Regions from separate parts of the Homo sapiens genome. Here region 2 is linked to region 1. Evidence: promoter capture Hi-C in 16 types of primary human blood cells and fetal thymus (Javierre and others, 2016). All regions are on one chromosome and are shown on one strand. Each heading gives the region's core, a stretch centred on a gene start or on the middle of the fragment in contact. The rest is flanking DNA. Distances are from core to core; before and after follow the strand shown. Region 1 holds the start of CCDC70 (coiled-coil domain containing 70). Region 2 overlaps NEK5 (NIMA related kinase 5).

Region 1 (6,878 bases), core at 1,797-4,296:
CTTTTTACTTGGCTGTTTCGGAAACTGATGGTCTTAAGCACACATATTAAAAAAGAAGAACGGTTAAAAACCAATGATTGAGACTTCCAGAATGACTGAGTAAGGGTTAGGATGGATTCTTTCCATCCTCAAAGAATTTTTACTATTTGACCTGTTTGGCAGTTCACTGAAAAGCTTCCTTCACAGAATTTGTCTTTATTTGACTTGACTCAGAGCTTACTCTGTGCAAATAACCCTATCCTCAGGGCATTTGTAAAAAAAAAAAAAATGGTAATTGTTTAATATCATAGCTGCCTGATTTGGCATTACTAGCTGGGGTTAACCATAGGCTTGACCAATAACTGAAAAAGAAAAACTGGAGAATAAGACGGAGACTTTGAAAAGTTTTGATATAGTCCTGAGAATTTGGGTCACATGCATGTGACTGTGCACATGGCTGAGAAAGACCTGAGAAGGCCATAATCTCTCACCTCAGGCTGACTTTGAGGCTCTCACAAGAAGGAAGCGAAGGCTAGGCAGAATCATAAACTGCCTGCATGATCACTAAAGGTATGCCCAACCTGCACCCCCGACTCCCAACCAAACACACACACACACACACACACACACACACACACACACACACAGACACCCCCTCAGCAAAGGAAAGGAGACATCAGTTCATGGAGATCTCTGTCCAGTCATTAGCTGATCGTTAAGCTAATAAGCAGACTTTAATGCCCACACATGATAAAAAATATAGACTTCATAGAATTTGTCCAAGAAAGTCACTAAATGAACAAATAGCAACAGCAACAACAATAAATGCCACCAACAAAACTTGGGAGTGGAAATCTCATTTTTAGTTACTATATTATTTTAAGTGTCCAACTTCAACAAAATTTTTTGAGGCATAAAGAAACAGGAAACCCTTTATTGCAAACAGAGTTATATATAAAGGGGGAAAAGCAGACAGTAGAAACTGTTATTCTATTTTTTTTTTTGTTTTGAGACAGGGTCTCACTCTGTCACCCAGGCTGGAGTGCAGTGGCACGATCATAGCTCACTGCAGCTCGACCTCCTGCACTGAAATGATCCTTCCTTCCTCAGCCTTCCAAGCAGCTGGGACTACAGGCATGCACCACCACAACTGACTAATTTATTTTAGTTTTGTAGAGACAGGGTCTTGTTATGTTGCTCTGGCTGGTCTCAAACTCCTACCAGGAGGACGCTCAAACCATCCTCCCTCCTCGGCCTCCCAAAGTGCTAGGATTACAGGCATGAGCCACCATGCCTGGCCTGAAACTGTTATTCTCTGAGTAATTGTCTTTTTGGTTATAAACTGTCTCTGAGGAATTGCAGATATTGGGCGATTAAACCAAGATTTTTAGTCAGCTATTACAAATGTAGTTAAAGAACTAAAAGAAACCATTCCAAAAGAATTAAAGGAAAACAAGGCCAGGTGTGATGGCTCACACCTATAATCCCAACAGTTTGGGAAGCCGAATGGGTAGATCACTTGAGCCTAGAAGTTTGAGGCCAGCCTGGGCAACATGGAGAAACCTTATCTCTAAAAAAACACAAAAAATTAGCTAGGTCTGGTGGCGCACGCCTGTAGTCCCAGCTACTTGAGAGGCTGAGGTGGGATGATCACTTGAGTCCAGGAAATTGAGGCTGCAGTTAGCCAAGATCATACCATGCCATTGCACTCCAGCCTGAGTGACAGAAACATGTCTCAAAAAAAAAAAAAAAAAGCATTAAAGGAAAGAATTAAAAACTATGCCTTACCAAAAAGAGACAGAAAAGTATGTGTGCATACATATATATATGTGTGTGTGTATATATATATATACACACACACACACTTTGTATACATATACTTTTATATAGATATATAGAAAAAATATATATATAGAAGTGTGTGTGTGTGTGTGTGTGTATATATATGTATATAGAAAAGCACATATATCCTTTTCTATATATAACCAAACAAATTCTGGAGACACAGTGAAAATTTCTGGAGAAATTCTGGATGGACTAGGGGTCCACTGACAGATGAATGGATAAAGAAATTGCAGCATGTATATAAAGTGGAATATTATTCAGTCATAAACAGAGAATCCTGCCGTTTGTCACAAGATAGATGAAACTGGAGAATATTATGCTAAGTGAAATAAGCCAGACACAGAAAGAAAAATGCTGCACAACTTCACTTATATGTAGAATATTAAAAAAATTAAAAAGAAGAAGTAAGAAAAAAGTCAAATACACAGACAAAGAATAAAATGGCAGCTGCTACGTGTGGGGAGTGGACGGGAAGAGGGAAATCAAAGGGTACAAAGTTGCAGATATATAGGATAAATAATTTAGAGATCTAAGGTACAACATGAGGACTGTAGTTAATAACACTGTATTAAAGATTTTTGCTAAGAGAGTAGATTGTGGGTGCTCTTGCTACAGTGCACAAAAAAGGGTAACTATATGAGATGATGGATATGTTAATTTACTTGACTATTTAAAAATTTTACTACATGACAAAAATTCTGGAGTTGAAAATGAAAAATTAAAGAGGGATTCAACAGCATATTTGAACTGACAGAAGAAAAAAATCCATGAACTTGTAAACAGGTTAATTGAGATTATCTAATCTAAGCAACAGAAAGAAAAAAGAATGAAGAAAAATGAACGTAACTTTAGAGACCTGGGGGACACACTCACGCTACTAGTATTCACATAATATGAGCCCTAGAAGGAGAGGAGACAGAGAAAATGGATGAAAGAATATTTGAAGAAATAATGGCCAAAAACTTCTGAAATTTGATGAAAAACGGCATCAAATCTGCATATCCAAGAAGCTCAACAATCTCCAAGTAGAATAAACCTCAAGACCAAGACACATCATAGTCAAACTATCAAAAGCCAAAGACGAAGAATCTGGAAAGCAGCAAGAGAAGTGATTCATCCCACACAAAGCCCCCACCAGAACATGACTTCCTAGAACCATGCTCCCGGAACCAATGCTGACAGAATCTAAGGTAACAATCACTTGTGAGTCATCAACAGCACTGCCCTATCAGTGAAGTCAAAGATTGAAGAGGAACTCTTTCAAACCTTTCAAGTGCCCCCTCCTTTCCTTAAAGTCTTTTATAGGGGTCCCCTTCTTGGCCATCTCCATCCTGTGAGTCAGGACTGAAAGGGCACAGACAGGTCACTGCCAGCATTGTTGGGGCAAGCCTGCAAGCACGCATCACTGGGGATCTGACATGACAATGGCCGCCTGCCCCCTCTGAGGGCTACAGGACTTACCCCAGTGGGAAGCAGCTAAGCAGTAAGTAACTGTTGGCTTTAGACTGTATAGTATTTGTTCTAAGCATAAGGTAATATATAATATTTTCCTTAAAAAGAAGCTCCTAGTCTTACAGTATAACTGAAAACTGGGCATGTATCTTTAGTGCATGTTTTTACAGCTATACAGATACACATCTACAGTTTTATATTGTACTTTATATTTTAATACACATCTACCTATTTGATATGGTTCTTATTTTCTTTCTTTCTTAAAGAAAGTTTAGTGTTCACTTGAGAAAAACTTGGAGGTGAATGTTTTCCAACATCCTAACCCAGTAGACGCCCATTCATCCAGCTACTATTTCCTGAACACCTATCCTGTGGCAGAACATTTCGCTGGATGCCAGACATAGAGATGGAAGATGAGGTGTTTCTAGTGGGACAGGAAGGGCACATGCTCAGTCTGAGCTTAGGAGAGATGGCCTGGAGGAGGTATCTGAGTGCTGAAGGATTCGCTAGGTGAACTGAAGTGAGGTTGGGCAAGGATATCCAGGGAGAGGGGGCCAGCATGACATGGAAGTGAGGGAGGACTTCACATATTGGAGGGATTCTAGGCAAAGAGCCATACAACATAGAAAATCAAATTTCCAAAATGCAGTTCAATTCAGTTCAATTCAACCAACATTTTCACCAATTCCCTCCTATATAGGCGGCGTTATATTATGATAGCTGCTGGGTTACAGAGATGTCAGGAAGACATGTCCACACCTAATTTCAATCAAGTGTGACAAGTAATAGTGGAGTAACAGACAGACAGTATCGCAGAGGTGGCGAGGAACTTTGTCTGGAGGGTCCGAGTAGCTTTCAGAGGGGAAAGGATGTACAGGAATTCAAGCCCACCACAGGAACAAAAGGGGCTCTCAGTAGAGGATGCGACATGTGCTTCACCACACAGGCAGGAAACTGCAGGCAGAGTGCCAAGAGCTGAATAGAGCCCGTTAATACTGGGCCTTAGATTTGGAGTTGGGTGCAGGCTGGGTAGGAAGGAGAGGGAGAAGCAAGCTGGAGTTGGGCTGCACAAGGCCTTCCTAGGGCGTTCAGCTTTGATCTTTGGGCTACAGGGTCTTTGAAGGTGTGTGAACTGATGTGATAGGACGAGAGAGTGTTCTAGAAAACACCTGTAGGGCTACAGTGCAGGGGCAGATGAGAGGGTAAGATCAATACAGAGAGCAGCGAGACTGTTACAGGCATCCTGGCCTGACCTGGCTGTCATGGGGGAGATGGAACAGGGGCATGGTTTCAGGAAATGTTAAGGATCTGGATCTCGGCTAGGAGGGCTTGATGGTTGAGGAGAGAAGTCTGGTGAGGGAGAGGGAAAGGTCAAGGATGTGCCCCTGGTTCTGGTTTGTGTGACTGGATGGATGGTGATGCCACCAGCTGTCCACAGCCTAGCCACTGTGTCTTCATATGCACGCGCACACAGACACACACACACACACACACACACACACACACACACACCAGCTATGTGTCTTTTCTCCTCCTCCACTCCCTGTTCCTAAACCAGAAATGGAAAAATACAGAGAAAGCCCTGAAAATTTCCCCAATAGGTCTCACGGATGATGGGTTGGTGAGATCCACTGAGTGAGGGCCGGACCCTGGCAGCTTCCTCCAGAAAGCACAAAATGGAAAACAATGCTGTCAGCATGTGCCTGCACTCCTTATCTGACAACACTGAGCTCTTTACTGCACTCTAACCACCTTCCTATGTCCAGCACTTTTTCTCATCCCTTGATTCATGTTTGTAGTTACAGGGATTGCTATGGATAATTCTGCTATCTGATTCCTCAGATATATGGCAATGTTTGAAGATCTTTCTCCTTCCCTCCCTCCCTTCCTTCCCTCCCTTCCTTCCTTCCCTCCCTCTCTTTTTCTTTTCTTTTTTTCTTTTCCTTCTTTCTTCCTCCCAGCTTTTATTTTATTGTGAAATATACTGTATTGACTGGGGTACATAAAATATCCATGTACCACTTAACACATTTTTATAACAACACACATGAAACCGCCACCAAGCAAAGAAAGAGTCCTGCTAGCACTGCAGAAGCCTCTCTCAAGTACTCACCTAATCACACCCCTTAGTCTCACCTCCTCATCCCACACTCCAAATCCTCCCACACCAGCAACTATTACTCTGACTTTGGGACTCACTTCCTTGCTTTTCTCTTTCTGTGTTGAAGTATGTTCCCCTAGACAATGGCATTTAGTCTTGCTTGTTTGGAACTTCATTCTTTGAAATTCCCTGATCCTGCTTCTCTCTTTCAGCATTGGGTTTATAAGATTTACCCATGCTGTTGTAGGCAGCCATGCTGTCTGCCATGTGGATATACTGCCATTTTTTATTCCACTCTATTGGGATGGTCATTGGATTGTTTCCAGAGTTGAGCTCTTATGAACAAAGCTCCTTGAACACACTTGTACATGTATCCTAGTCACAGTTCCTAAGTTTCCTCAGGGTTTATACCTGGGACTGGAGCTGCGGGTCATCTGGTGTCTTTCTTATTGTTCCATATTACTAAATATTGTGTGAGGGCCTTCTTGGTCCATGTCCCTGGAAACATTCACCATCGTCTCTCACCTTTTTGTTTTAAACCACTTTTCCCAAAATAAACTCCTCTCCTAAAATACACTCTCCTCCTCCCCTCTGAGGTCAGTGGGCCTGTCTTCTGTGTCCCAGGCTCGTAACAGAGGACATTCACACGTGAGCATGCCCATAGGCAGATAGGAACAATTCTCAAGTGAGTACACCAAAACCTAAATTCATTCGGATTGATTTAACAAACGTAAATTCTTCTTGGCCTCATCATGTCACACCTATGTGTTCTGATACCCTAGTTGACAGCCACTGTCCTTCTTGGCTGAGTGTCTACGTTTTTAGCAGCCTTGAGCTTGAATGTACTGACTGCCTCTCCAGCTCAAAGCCATGACCACCCCACATGTTTTTCTACCAAAGCTTGTCCCTCACAAACACCACCATGTGGACAAAGAGCAGTGATTACATTTTCTCAAATTCAGTAGTACAGAACCAAGGGCCGTCCCCTGGCATGTGATACTCATAGATCTGTCTTTTCTGCTGCCCCCACAGGGTCTGACCAGCCGACCTGGACCTGGCCAAGGGTCCTGTCATCCCTCATGGCCACCCCGCCATTCCGGCTGATAAGGAAGATGTTTTCCTTCAAGGTGAGCAGATGGATGGGGCTTGCCTGCTTCCGGTCCCTGGCGGCATCCTCTCCCAGTATTCGCCAGAAGAAACTAATGCACAAGCTGCAGGAGGAAAAGGCTTTTCGCGAAGAGATGAAAATTTTTCGTGAAAAAATAGAGGACTTCAGGGAAGAGATGTGGACTTTCCGAGGCAAGATCCATGCTTTCCGGGGCCAGATCCTGGGTTTTTGGGAAGAGGAGAGACCTTTCTGGGAAGAGGAGAAAACCTTCTGGAAAGAGGAAAAATCCTTCTGGGAAATGGAAAAGTCTTTCAGGGAGGAAGAGAAAACTTTCTGGAAAAAGTACCGCACTTTCTGGAAGGAGGATAAGGCCTTCTGGAAAGAGGACAATGC
Region 2 (6,878 bases), core at 3,111-5,610, 260 kb after region 1:
ACAGCTGGGATCTTGTTAGAAAAGAAGGATTTCTACTCACTTGTTTGTCTACACTTCATTCTTTTGTACCTAAACAGTAGTTAGCACATCAAAGGGGCTTAAATGTTTGTTGAGTGGATTCATTAAAAACAAACAAACAAAAAAACCCTGAAGGAACACAAAACATAAGCGCCAAAATCAGTCTTATAAGCAATTGTTGATAACATTTTCCCCTGTAGTACCCATTAAATGCCAAAATCTCTTGCCAAATATCTATCTTTTGCTATCCTACTCTTTAAAGTACCCTAACCAACTTTACTGTGGATATCAGTAACCTGGCAGTGTCTACCCTTGGTTGCTTCTAATTCACAAACCATGCATCTTCTTTCACATATTTCAATTTTTCCTCCTCTCTTCTTTAAGAGACGATCCATTCAGTTATTAACAAACTTCTATTGAGGACATGCAAAAGCAAGGAATGCTGTGTAGGAATAAAAAGCAAAGAAGCCATCCATTCTACTGTTAAGGAGGCGAAGTCTAGTTGGGGAGTCCCTCAGCATTGGGTGAGAAGTGCTGTGAAGAAGTCTGTAGGCTGGAGGGTGAGGAGAAAGCGCATGCAAGTAAGACTGGAGATCTAGGAAGGGTTCTGAGAAGATGCTTCCCCATATGCCTTAATGTCTAGAGATCGGTTATTTTCAGGAATGTGTTACTTTTAGGAGAATTGATGTTTCTTGTCATTGAAGCTCAGTCAGTAAAAGGTCTGCCACAGCAATGAAGGGATGGCAATTTCAAAACCATGGAAGAATCAGAATAATGAAACAGAGGAGACACATTATTTCATCTCACTTCCTTTTCACCAACCTCCAACTCACTCAACCTTACACTGGCTTTTGGTGAAAGAAACTGACTAAAAATTCATCATGACAGAGATACCTTTTTTTTTTTTTTTGAGACGGAATCTCGCTCTGTCACCTGGGCTGGAGTGCAGTGGCGCAATCTCGGCTCACTGCAAGCTCCGCCTCCTGGGTTCACGCCATTCTCCTGCCTCAGCCTCTCCGAGTAGCTGGGACTACAGGCGCCCGCCACCATGCCCGGCTAATTTTTTGTATTTTTAGTAGAGACAGGGTTTCACTGTGGTCTCGATCTCCTGACCTCGTGATCCACCCGCCTTGGCCTCCCAAAGTTCTGGGATTACAAGCGTGAGCCACCGCGCCCGGCCGACAGAGATAGCTTAAACTACTGGCCAGGTGCAGTGGCTCATGCCTGTAATCCCAGCACTTTGGGAGGCCGAGATGAGTGGATCACCTGAGGTCAGGAATTTGAGACCAGCCTGGCCAACATAGTGAAACCCTGTCCCTACTAAAAATACAAAAATTAGCCAGGCATGGTGGCGGGCGCCTGTAATCCCAGCTACTCAGGAGGCTGAGGCAGGAGAATTGCTTGAACCCGGGAGGTGGAGGTGCAGTGAGCCAAGATTGTGCCACTGCACTCCAGCCTGGGTGACAGAGTGAGACTCCGTCAAAAAAAAAAAAAAAAAAAAAAAAAAGAAACTACTTAATGTCAATTAGCATTATCTGACTGTAAAATAAGGATTTTCCCCCATTAGCCACTGTTAATTTTATATTTATTGGAAGTGTCTGGAAAAATCATTTATGCTCTCAAATTTTCCATCTGCTGTAAAGCTCATGGATCACTGACACTTCAAAACAATTGAGGGGCACTAAATAACCTTTTTATTTGTCAAATTCCAACATTTATTAAACAATTATTATAATTCATTCTAAAATGCACTTTTAAAAAATCAAGGGCCTGGCGCAGCAGCTCTCTCCTGTAATCCCAGCACTTTGGGAGGCCAAGGCTAAGGCAGGTGGATTGCTTGAACTTAGGTGTTTGAGACCAGCCTGGGCAACATGGCGAAAACCTGGCTCTATAATGAAAAAATATTCAAAAATTAGCCAGGTGTGGGGGTACATGCCTGTAGTCCCAGTACTCAGGAGACTGAGGTGGGAGGATCCCTTAAGCCCAGAAGGTCAAGGCTGCAGTGAGCTGTAATCACACCACTGCACTCCAGCCTGGGCAACAGAGTAAGACTGTCTCAAAAAAAAAAAAAAAAAAATCAAGATTGTTTCTTACAGACATTGGCATCTTCCAATCACTTGCTGTAGACCCGGCAGGCTTAATGTTTTCACTGCCTAAATAATTTTTAGAATACCTTAACCAACTTTGTTTGCTTATATTTTCTTTTTTATGTGTGCATTAGAGTAATATAAAATAAAACTCTGTGTTTAAATAAATGTAAAAGAGCTCTTTCTGGCCAGGCACAGTACTCACAGCACTTTTGGAGGCCATGGCGAGAGGATCACTTGAGGCCAGGAGTTCAAGGCTGCAGTGAGCCATGATCCAATTAACCCAATTGCAAGTAAATGAAATCTATAACAACCTAAATAAGCTTAGAAGAGGACCATGAGCCACAGATAACAGTCCCAGCTGACACCTTGATTTCAACTAGCTGAGACTCCGGGCAGAGAATCCAGCTAAGCCAACCTCAGGCTTCTGACCTACAGAAATCAAGAGATAATAAATAGGTGTTGTTGTTAAGCCACTAAATTTGTGTTCATTTGTTATGTAGTAATAGAAAACAAATACAACAGCATGGGAATTTTTGCCTATTTTGTTTGCTGATATATCTCCAAGACCTAGAACATGCCTGGCATATAACAGACACTTAGTGAATGTTTATTGATGGAATATACATGGAATTAATTTTGTCTTAGGAAAATATCACTACATTCTCATTATTTTTCTTATGTTGCTTCAAACCAATAAAAACATCCTATTTTCTTTTTTTTTTTTTGAGACAGAGTTTCACTCTTCTTGCCCAGGCTGGAGTGCAGTGGCGCAATCTCAGCTCACTGCAACCTCTGCCTCCCAGGTTCAAGCGATTCTCCTGCCTCAGCCTCCCAAGTAGCTGGGATTACAGGTGCACACCACCATGCCCGGCTAAACGTTTTTGTATTTTTAGTAGAGACGGGGTTTCACCATGGCCAGGCTGGTCTTGAACTCCTGACCTCAGGTGATCTGCCCGCCTCGGCCTCCCAGGGTGCTGGGATTACAGGCATGAGCCACTGCGCCCGGCCAAAACATTCTATTTTCTATAGACAAACATTAGAGCCATGGTTCTTATGATCAGAGATAAGCGATTTGAGGGAAAACAAGCCTTTACCTACACTCTCTAAAAGACAGAGGCTACAAGGCCTCTGAGGCTTTTAGATAAGCTCAGTAGTTCAAGTCCCAGCAATCAGCCAAGCAAACTCAAAGGCATCACAATAGCTCTAGCTTTCCTAAACACAGGGGTGCTCTACTTAAAAAGAGTCATAAGAAAATGTAAACTTACAGTATCAACAAACACAGCAGAGGTTATGTATACTGTAAAAATGACCTTAGTTCTGCAAAAGCTTCCAGTGGTAAACTGTCCTCAAAAATCAATCTCACATGGTATAAGGAAATACTCCAGTCTCTAAAAGTGGTCCAGTCCATTTGCTCATTCAGTAAATAGGTATTGAGCAGCCATTGTGTGCTACATGCCAAGGATCAAGTGGTGAGCAAAACAGATGGAGCCCCAAAATTCATTAAGTTTACCATGTAAAGGGCGACAAATATGAAACAAATTCATAATTATATAAATAGACATATGTAAGTACAACTGCTGTGGAAGAGAACCAAAGGGAGCTGTAATTTGAATTGTGAGTTCAGAAAAGGCCTGAGGATAAGTAGGAGTTAGCCAGAGAGTCACAATAATCTCAAACAAAATAAAGAAGAGAAAGATCATCTTATAGCATTATCAGTATCCAATGGACAGGAATGCAGGGCACTTTATTCAGTGGCTTTCCTTGAAAGTTATTCCATGCAACCCAATTCCAGACCATGTGTACTGTTCTGCTCCCAGGAAGACCTCAGAAGAGTCCCAAGAGCTCTTTTTAAATACCCAGAAGCCAAAGAAGGGCCATACACACAGAAGTACCTTGAATGTAGCGGTTTTAATCAGTAAGGAACACAGTGCTCTGCACAGTTTACATACTCAAGACACAGTGGCTGTATTTATTTATTGACTGACTTTTACCCAACTGATGATGCTTGAAGATATTGAGGTTAACACTTCTGCTCCATGAACTAATTATCAGTCTTAAAACAGCCCTGCGCTGGGGGCTGGGCTGGGGAATGACCCTTCATAAAACTGTCAGCACATACAGCCCTGTCACAACTTAAGACACACCTGACATACTGTAGATTTGTTTATTGTCTATCTCTTCCCACTAGAATATAAATTTCATGAAAACAGGGATTTTCATCTGCTTTGTTCACTGCTATATTCCTGACACCTAGAACAATGCCTGGCATAGAGTAAGCACTCAATAAGTATCAGTTCAGTGAATGAATGCTGTCTGACCAATGCTCCTTCATTTATTATTTATTTTTTACCTTTGGACTACAGTGATGCGTGGAGGCAGAATTGTATTCAGATGTATGGAGGAAGGGACTTCCTTCCCTAAAGTTGTCAGCAGAATTGTATTCAGGTGTACAGAGGAAGGTACTTCCTTCCCTAAAGTTCTCCCCCTCTCCGTGGCAGTGTGCTAGGCTATGGTGCGTGGCTGTTTGCTGGCTCTCTGTAAGAGGATTACACAGTCCCATCTGTTGCCTGAGGATATGCAGGATCTCATGTAAACAGAGTACCCCCCAGCACACACACACAAACACACACATCCTAGCAGGGCTTTGAGAGCGATAGTGTGGTGGGCTCTGTGTTTTCCCCTCTTCTCTTGCTTATGAGAACAGCTGGTTCCTTATCTGAGCTGCTCCTTCAGCCTGGGCCCCAGACTCAAGACCCCAGCCCACCACAGCTAGCATGTAATGTAAGTGAGAAATAGATGTGTCTTATTGTAAGTCACTTAAATTTGGGGGTTGTTACTACAGCAAAGAAGCTAATAAGCCAGTCATTAATTTTTTGGGAGAGTGAGAATTAAGGAGAGGCAGAAAAACAAGAAAACATAAGAAAGCCGTCTACAAAAACTTACTAGAGAGGAAATAACGAGGACGTCTCAAGCTGCAATTTAAGTAAATGGGGAAATGACCCATTTACAAAAATTAATTTATACACAGTCCTTAGGAACAAATCTTTTTACATATGTCAACATGCCTATACTTTATAAAAATACTTAACGAATATTAGAAAATCAAACCTTGAAATGAATTGAAGAAGGCTACAATGTTGGGATGTTTCATCTTTTCCAGAAGAATCACTTCTTTCTTTGAAGCTTCTTTTTCTTGTATGGGCATCTAAATTACATTAAGAGACAGAGTAGTCTATAAAGCTAACTTGGTTTCAAGAACATGCTTTCTGCTCATTTCCATCTAAAATTCTCTAGGATTTCACTGGCTTTTAATGTCACTTTGAAAACGATCTTTCAATGGCAGGAAACAACATTTCTAGAATTAGCAGAGTGCCCTACATCTCATCAATGGTTTGTTGACAACCATCATCAAGAAAATAAATATTTCTGGTGAAGTTTTGCTATATTAAAAGTTGGACTGGTGGTACCGTGTTCATTATCTAGCCATATGGAGCCATATTTTAATATCTATCTTTCAGTAGCGAAGGAATTCTTTATAAAAATGCAACATTCCAGGAGCAATCACTGCTGAGAAGAAACAAATGAAATCTAAAAAAAGAAAATGTGTCATATCCCACAGAAATCAGGTCAGTAAAATTTTGTATTAAGATGACTACATTTTTCATTTTCAAATAAAAATTGTCTTGCATGACTTCATTTTAGAAGTATTTGGGTGTATTTTCTTGTTCTACTTTCACCTATAGACAATACTTGCCAAGGGGTTTGGTGCCAGTACCAGTGGCCACACCTCATTTCTACTTTTTCTTCCTCACTCTTGATGCTTTGCTGACTTGTCATTTCTACCCTGACTTCCAGCCCCTGACTGCCCCGCTTTTCTGATGTCCACGGGGCCTCCACCCATTAGAGGTCTTCAACATTGGCCAGATTTCTCATTCTCATTTAGACTTAAGAACTTCTTAAAAATTAATATTCTCAATTCTAGCTTCCCTACATCTCAGCTGAAGGATCCTTCAGTAAGTTCCTTAAACCCCTCTAAGCTTCAGTGTTTCCTGCCCCAATTTAAATTGTATAGTCAGTACATAGGAGTTTCAAAACAAAAACAGCTAAATTACTCCTACCAGCTGGATACATTTAGCAACTTAAAAAATTCCTAACTACTATTTATTTAAAAGAATATTATAAACAAAATTAAAAGACAAACAAAAGGATAAGATACAATATTTGTACCATATATGACAAATATATTTATAATATAAAAATTGATGGCAAATAATTTTTAAAAAGGCAAACACCCCAACAGAAAAATAGCAAAGTACAAGAATAGTCAACTCGAAAAAAAAAGAGAAATAAAAATGGCTGATAGAAAAAATATTCAATCTCATGCAGTAATCAAAGGAATAAAAACTAAAGCAAAATTTGGCTGGGTGTGGTAGCTCATGCCTGTAATCCCAGCTCTTTGGGAAGCCAAGGCAGGCAGATCACTTGAGGCCAGGAGTTCAAGACCAGCCTGGCCAACATAGCAAAACCCTGTCTCTACTAAAAACACAAAAAATTAGCCAGGCGTGGTGGCACACACCTGTGGTCTCAGCTACTCAGGAGGCTGAGGCAGGAGAATCCCTTGAACCTGGGAGATGGAGGCTGCAGTAAGCCAAAATCACACCACTGCACTCCAGCCTGGGTGACAGAGTAAGACTCCATTGCAAAAAAAAAAAAAAAGGAATAAAAGCTAAAACAAAATGTAATATAGTATTCCATGTATGAAACTGGCAA

Evidence for each region. Contacts are between HindIII fragments. The CHiCAGO score rates a contact against its expected background, and 5 or more counts as called.
Region 2: a fragment that was not itself captured here is called in contact with the fragment with the promoter of CCDC70 in region 1 in 7 of 17 cell types (erythroblasts, naive CD4 T cells, total CD4 T cells and 4 more); the score reaches 9.0 in erythroblasts.

The regions. Positions count from the first base shown.
Region 1 is chr13:51,858,923-51,865,800 of GRCh38, forward strand. CCDC70 (coiled-coil domain containing 70) reads left to right here and starts at 3,047. Exons shown (of 2, transcript NM_031290.4): 1 at 3,047-3,307; 2 at 6,410-6,878. The coding sequence starts at 6,490. It also overlaps a transcript of TMEM272 not described here. RefSeq lists an enhancer at 2,649-3,848. The HindIII fragment of the contact is 6,103 bases long and covers 173-6,275 here.
Region 2 is chr13:52,114,103-52,120,980 of GRCh38, forward strand. It overlaps NEK5 (NIMA related kinase 5), which reads right to left. Exons shown (of 24, transcript NM_001365552.1): 4 at 5,217-5,313. Among named protein-coding and RNA genes, the nearest start is that of NEK5, 12 kb to the right of the region's middle. The HindIII fragment of the contact is 1,857 bases long and covers 3,433-5,289 here.